Linked DNA regions of Homo sapiens: region 2 is linked to region 1. Evidence: promoter capture Hi-C in 16 types of primary human blood cells and fetal thymus (Javierre and others, 2016). All regions are on one chromosome and are shown on one strand. The core of a region is centred on a gene start or on the middle of the fragment in contact, and the rest is flanking DNA. Distances in the headings are between cores, read along the strand shown.

Region 1 (3,886 bases), core at 342-2,841:
CAGGAGGCTGAGGCAGGAGAATTGCTTGAACCCGGGAGGCGGAGGTTGCAGTGAGCTGAGATCATGCCATTGCACTCCAGCCTAGGCAACACGAGTGAACTCCATCTGAAAAAAAAAAAAATTTACATTCTGTAGTTTCCCAGAAATATATTCCAATTTCTAACAACTTATCATACTGTTGTCCAGTGCTATTTATTCAACAAGCTTTTGAGAGTTGTTGAGAGCGGGCACTGTCAACAACCAGGGATGCAAAGATGAATTTCATAAGCTCTGTGCTAGAGTATTACTACCTAGTAAAAACTAATAATTACAATAGAGTGAGCTATGAAAGCATTGAAAATGAAGCAAATATTTGTGCTTAGGAAAGCGTGGGAAGGCATCAAAGAGAGCAAAAAGGCAGTTTTGAGGTGTTATACATGGGACTGGACACCAGCAACAAAGGTGGTGAGGAAATTTTTGAACAGAAATGGGACACGGCCTCCTCTTAGAATTCAAGAGGTTGAATTGAAGGTTGTCTTTCCTTCATTGCACTTATTCCAATGTGTATGTTTAGATTTGTTTTTGTGATCATCAATGATGCTAGACTAAAAGTTCCTTGAGGACAAGTCTATATCCGATTTTCTTTACAACTGTATACTTCCCAGTGGTTACACATACAACATGTCAAATAAATGTGTTGTAAGCAAAAAGTGGGTAGGAGAGTTCTCAGAAGACTGGCTGCTCATTATTTATCCAATACTGTCAAGTGAGAGAGCCAGTGAATCTGTGAAAACAGAAGCATTGAATCTGGGAAAAGCATTCCTCTCACCAGAGGAGCATGCTCTACTGTCTGGCAGGGGATAATCCATTGAACTTCCTGTGGTCATAATTACCCATTTTTCTCCTTCCTTCTTCCCCCATTGGATGAATCATCTCTTTGCTCTTATTTCAACCTTTTAATTACTGATCCACCCTCTTTGATTACCTGACACAACAGGAATATCTTTCGTAACTTGAAAGGTCAGTTGACTGAATTTGTTTCATTTTGTTTAGTGATTATGCAGCCTTGCTCACTCTTGTGCATCTGTTGCAATGTTTTTCGTGGAAAACAAAGGTCTCATTTAGATTTCTAAATTACCTTGCTACAAAGCTGACTCTATACTAATGAAATTCCTCTAAAACAGTAGACGTAAGAAAGAATGCTTGCACTATAAGAAGAAACGAGTGTGAGGTCCTTCCGGATTTTTGCTGGGAAAAGATAAATCATTTTTTATGACTCCTGAATATGCCATCAGAATTGTTGGCCTTCAAGGTTTACCCCATTATTGTGGGCTAAAACGTATTCAAACGCTCGAAGACTAGAGACGCCTAAAGCCACCCGCCACCCCTAGTGTCCAGGAGGAGTCAGTAAACACCGAGATTGCTTCCCGCAGCACACCCAAGAAGGAATGTAATGTAATGCAGCCACCATGTTGGTTGTGGTTAAGTGCAGCAAACTGCTTGGCGTCACTTAGCCCTGCTGCGCAAGCGTGTTGAGAGTACGCTTCACTCCGCCCCTTCTCGTGCACGCGCCCGGAGCCCGCAACTCTCGCGAGAGAAGCGAGATTTATTCCTACGTACCGGGCCGTGCTGCTTATGGCGGCGCTGGAGAGGGGGCGCTGAGCTGTTGGGGTGAGTACGACCTCAGGGTCCAACTGGGGGTAGCAGAAACCCAGGGGAAGGGCTGAGAATAAGACCAAGGCTAACGAGAAGCCTTCTGAGTCAAGGTGGGCACTCGTAGAGCTCTAGGTGGGGAAGAATGCACCCCGATTCCCTGCCCTGGGCTTTTTCATACGTCTCCCGTTCAACTGCCTGGGCCTCATGTCAGGTCGCAGAGCTGAAACGAGGAGTTGAGGCCAGCCGGCTGCGCGTGGTGGTAGTGGTGGTGGTGACTAAAGTGGGGGGAGGGAGCGAAAATGGAGGCTCCGACAGCAGCCAAGATGGAGGCAGAGGGTGCGGGGCTCGGGCGCGGAGGCTGCTGGGATCTGTAGTCTGGCTGCTTCCCCATCTGCGGCTTGTCTGGGGAAACGGGAACTACATGTCCCGGCGGGCGGGGCGAGGGGGTGGTGGCGCGGTCCTTTGTGTGAGGTTGGAAGAGCCTGAGACCGAGAAGAGGGGCCTACTTTGACTCTGGACCCTGTAGTTTCCTGGCCGTTACCTGCTTGGGAATCTGACTACCAGTACCAGAGCGCAGTGCGGCAGTGGCGCCTTCTTTGTGTATAGACTGAGACCCTGCTCCATCTAGATATCTTAGGGGAAGTGTTTAAAGACACCTTTCCCCAGCCACATCTGGCACAGTAGTGTGGCGGAATTGACATCGTTACTCCAGTCACCTAGAGCAGGGTCTCAGCACCCAACCTTCCCCTCATTGTCTCCCCTTCGGCGTCTTGAGAAAGGGAACCAGTCCCTAATCTTTTAGGCACGTGGCTCCCACCCCTCTATCTTGGGGAATGGGCGTGCGCCCTGAAAGCTCAGTAGTGTCCTCCCTTCCACCTCCTGTAGTTCTCATGGTGCCAGCGCCTGGCCCACCCACATTGTGCAATGAACGGCCTGGCTTCGTCATTCTATGTAGAATGTTTTAGAGTTCCCCCGTCGGAGACAGCTTCAAATTTTTGCCATGCTATTTTATCAATACGAAATCTTAGTGCCAAGGTTCTTTTGCTTTAAGGTTTTCCCTTAGAAACACCCAGATGGCGGCCGTCTTGCTTAACTCACAGGTGAAGCAGAGAACGCTCCCTGAAACAGGCTTGAATCTGCAAAGAATATCTGAACGTTGTTGGGCAAGTTAATTTTCGTGTTTTGCACCTTAAATGAGTAAAAGAATATGGCGCTCTTTAAACAGTTGGGAGACAGGGCGGAGAGGGAGAATGCTCAAAGGCACTGTGGTAGTTAAATCTTTTTGAGAGGCTTAAATTTTCATCAGGCTGGTATGAACTGGCAGTTCTCAGCCACTGCTACTAACCTACTTTTTTAGAATGTAGGTTTCAAATTATAGCCCACAGATATAAGCTACTCTATACTAAAATGCTGAGTAATTTTCATTTTGAGTAACTAAAGGCAAACATTCTTGATATTGCATTGAGGAGCACTATAATACATACCTTGGTTTTCTTTTGGTACTAACCAATAATGGATATCCTTGGTGTGGGTAAGGAGGGGCTTTATATACTTCAGTAGGGATATACCTGAGTCATAAAACTTAGATAAATATTTGGCCTTCTTTTTGTTTCGTTTTAGCCCTGGGACTAAAATAAAAGAGAAGGTAATAGTTTGGTTTTGCAGCTGTTCTGGATGTTTACCATCGAGATGATTATTTATAGCAGCTGAGTTGAAAACTAAAGTATTTGAGGCACAGAAGATAGGTTTTCTTTTTTTGTAAGTACTGACTTAAGTGTGACCTTTAGCGAGTGTGGGTGAAAATCTGGTAAAGTCCTAGCAAATCAAAATTGAAAGCGTGAAAGCTGACGTGCAGTCTGGCTTTACCCTCTACCCTTATTTTCCCTTCTCCCCACCTGAAGACACATCGTGTAGGGCCATCGATTTTTGTTTTAAACAAACAAAATGCTAAAATATCAAATTATGCTGGAGCATTCATAACATGAAATTTAGTGTTCCAGTGTTTTTCATTGTACAGTTCAGTGGCACTAAGTCTATTGAAACTGTTGTGAGAGCCATACTTTCGACAAGGTAGTTAAAACATGGAAATTTTGGAACGATGTTCTTTTGGACAGATTTTTGAGGAGTTGAATTTCAGGACTGTATTGCAAAATGAGATAAAAATCTTGATCTTGTTAAGTAAACACAAAGAATTGATGTGCCTTCTTCTTAGCTTTGTCCTTGCAGAAAACAGAAGAGGAAGCACTTTGAG
Region 2 (3,542 bases), core at 295-2,794, 4.4 Mb before region 1:
CCGGAAAGCTGCTTGTCAGCAAACAACTATTCAAATGTCACCTTAAATTTCAGCAGCAATGTTAGGTAAGACAATTCAAAATTAGATAAATTTATCAAAAATTCCTCTCCTTGAAATTTGAGGGTTTGATTCTGCAGAACTAGAATGAGATGATTATTTATAATTTATAGCACATTAACACCTATGCTATCAAAGTAGCTAAGCCGTAGACCCAAACTTCCCCTTATTCCAAACTAAAGAATTGAAGATGTCTTGAGAATAGAGAATCAAAGAGAGAGAGAAAAAAAAGACAAACTGCAGCCTGCTAATGACTGCCCAGGGAAGTTTAAGACACTAAGTCATTATAAATGCTAAAGAAAAAATTTCTTAAACCTCTACTATTGTTTCAGTGGCATTTATGAATAGGGCTATTAAAGTTAATTATTAATCTAGATTGTTTCAAGATGTAGAATTTCCAGTACCGATGAATGTTTCTAAACCTTTAATTTAGCTTTGAGTAGAATAAGTATTAAATGTGAGAGTATTTTTTTAAAGTATAAATCTACATATAATTTCAGTCATTGAAAATGATGGTTTGAAAGATTAATGTGGTTTTTTGAAAGACTGAGAAAAGATACAAAATTGTGTTCATAGTGTTATTACGATGTTATGTTTATATATAAGTGTTTATATAAACGTATACATAGAAAAAAAGCCTGGAAGGGAACAAACATTTTTAACTTTTTTATTTTGCTTTGGCCTTCCTAAATAGTGGGTTAAAAGTTATTTGTTTCCTTTTATAGCATTACATATTTTTCACATGTCTAAATTGAAGACACACACTTTTTAATAACCAGAAAAACGTTTTGAAATCATAAATCTTTATACAGATCTTTAGTCATTAATATCATTTGTGATATTTTAGGATTCTGAGGAAGATACTTGTCCCACAATGCTGTTATTAAAATGGCCTTAGAAAAGGACTACTAAAAATTTATGGCCACTTTTCCTGTATGTATCTTCTTTTTCTCTTGAAAAGCTTCCTTTGAAGTCAAAGGGATTTTGTGAACAGATGCAGAAATATGTGAAAGAGGCATTGGATTCTTAAACCAGATGCATTAGACATTTTTATGATATCTCATAACCTTTGTAGAAAAAAATTATTTTGCAAGAGTATAGTATAATGGGAAAAAATGTATATTTATCATATGAATGGTTCCATCAAAAACCAAGAAATAGCCAAGTTAGTTTTTATTAGCCTTGGCTGTGCACTTACTCCCTTAGGTGTAAAGCAAAAGTGAATGAGCCATAACAGTGCTATGTTAGAAACTCTAACTAATAAAGTGTTGTGATTCCTAAGTTGTTTTAATGGTTTTTAGTGTTTTCTTTTTTTAAAACAAAATCTTGGGTAAAAATGTTGGCATAGGGCATCTTTGCTTATCTCAGAGGATGCAGATGTAAACTCAAGTTGAAAATAAAACAGGGAGAAACAGGAATAACAGCACATCACTCCATACTCATTATGGGATGTCTACAATTTATATGAAAACGGTTTATTTTGCCAGGTGTTGCCTGACAGAAAACTGTTGAAATCTGACAAGATGAGCGTAGTCATAAAGTCAGAGGAGTTAAGATCTGACATGTTCTGTTTAAATGTTGATGGTATTAGGTAAATTTAAGCCTGTCATCATTGGCCAAACACAGAATCCATACTTCTTTAAGCACTAAGTCATGATTGTATTGTGCAAAGAGTGAAATATTGATGGTTAGTAGATTTTTGCAAAAGTATTTGTTATTCAGTTGAAGTATGATAAAGTGTCCACATTTTATTGCAGTTGAACATGTTTCATTATTAGCGGTTCCTAGTCTGGGTTTGGCCAGTATTCACATAATGTTCTTGCTGTTAACTATCGCTAAGTATAGCCATTAGATGAAGAATTACGCCTAAAAAGAAAAAAAGCGTGGTTTAAAATTTTTGACCCTGTATTTAATTCTCACAAGATTTAAATTTTTTTAATTTTAAAATAATTTTAGATTTACAGAGTTGCAAAATTAGTACAGAGAATTTCTGTATACCCTTCACCAAGCTTTGTCTTGAATAATCATAATACAGTTATCAAAATCAAGAAATTAATATTGGTACAATAATAGTAATTTAGCTACAGACTTAGTTCAAATTTCACTAGTTTTTTCACTGTCCCTTTCCTTAGTCCAAGATCAAATCCAGGGTCCCACAATGCATTTAGCTTTCATGTCTCTTCTAATGCATACATTTTCTCCTTCATGACCTTGGCACTTTTGAAGAGAACCAGTCAGTTATTTTGTAGAATGTCTCTCAGTTTAGGTTTGTCTGATTTTTCTTTGTGTTTAGACTGAGGTTATGGATTTTTGGCAAGAATACCACGAAGAGATATTGTTCATAACAAGGCCTTGAGGCAGGTATTGCCACCTTATTTCAAACGTGAAGAAATAGTCTTTGGTTAAGTAACTTGCCCAATGTCACACAATGGTGGAATTAGGATCGTAAGATTTAATGTAGGCATTTCATTCCATATTTTGCAATTAGTATTTGTTATTGTAGGTTTCTGGAATGTTAATGACATTAAATTGGCATAGTGTTCCCACTGACTTTTAGCTTTTCTCTGCCATGTATTGTTCATGCAACATGCAACATGAGCTAATCAGCATGGTATGTGTTCAAGAGCTACTACAATCATCTGGGAATTTTGCTAGTTGATTACTCTGCCAGTTTGATGAGGTTACTTCATCTCTCATGGCAAAAAAAGGTGTTGCGTGGATCCACTCTAAAGCTCCTTTTAATCTCAGTCGGTGAGTCTTATTTGTTTAAAGTGCTTTTGTGGTTGGTTGCTTTTGTGAACTGACCTAGTTTATTAAAATGATAATAATATTTAAATTCTTTGCAATATAGCTTTGAGGAGCTAATGAAAACTACTGATAGTAACTGTTGAAAATATAGAGGAAGGAAGAACTGTAGCTGAATGCTGAGGATTTATGCTAGCAGATAGTACGGCAGCCATGGCCTGGAAATGCTGAAGAGAGTGATGCTGCTGACCTCCAAATTCTTGCTCAGTATATCTTTCGAATGACTGCAAGTTACAGAAGAGCTGTCTGCAGAAGCTTCTACAACTATATGTACACACACACACACACACAGACAAATATATATTTTTTATACAAATTTATTTATTTATTTATTTAAACATCTATTGGCCAAGCACGGTGGCTGACGCCTGTAATCCCAGCACTTTGGGAGGCCGAAGCAGGTGTATTTCTTGAGCTTAGGAATTTCAGACCAACCTGGGCAACATAGTGAGACCTTGTCTCTATAAAAAATTCAAAAAATTAGCTGGGCTTAGTGGCATATGCCTGTAGTCCCAGCTAGTCAGGAGACTGAGGTAGGAGAATCACCTGAGCCCAGGAAGGCTTCAGTGAGCAGCGATTGTGCCACTACACAGTTAAGATCCTGTCTGAAAAACCAACAAACAAAAAAACCCCAAAACCCATCTCTCTCTCTCTCTCTATCTCTCTATCTATCTATCTAT

Evidence for each region. Contacts are between HindIII fragments. The CHiCAGO score rates a contact against its expected background, and 5 or more counts as called.
Region 2: a fragment that was not itself captured here is called in contact with the fragment with the promoter of CSDE1 in region 1 in 2 of 17 cell types (non-activated CD4 T cells and monocytes); the score reaches 6.2 in non-activated CD4 T cells.

Annotation. Positions count from the first base shown.
Region 1 is chr1:114,755,689-114,759,574 of GRCh38, reverse strand. It overlaps CSDE1 (cold shock domain containing E1), which reads left to right and starts at 1,591. Exons shown (of 20, transcript NM_001007553.3): 1 at 1,591-1,650. RefSeq lists enhancers at 1,385-1,674, 1,046-2,039, 1,875-2,194. The HindIII fragment of the contact is 3,696 bases long and covers 207-3,886 here.
Region 2 is chr1:119,135,738-119,139,279 of GRCh38, reverse strand. All of the region lies in intron 1 of WARS2 (tryptophanyl tRNA synthetase 2, mitochondrial), which reads left to right. Among named protein-coding and RNA genes, the nearest start is that of WARS2-AS1, 2.9 kb to the left of the region's middle. The HindIII fragment of the contact is 1,048 bases long and covers 1,021-2,068 here.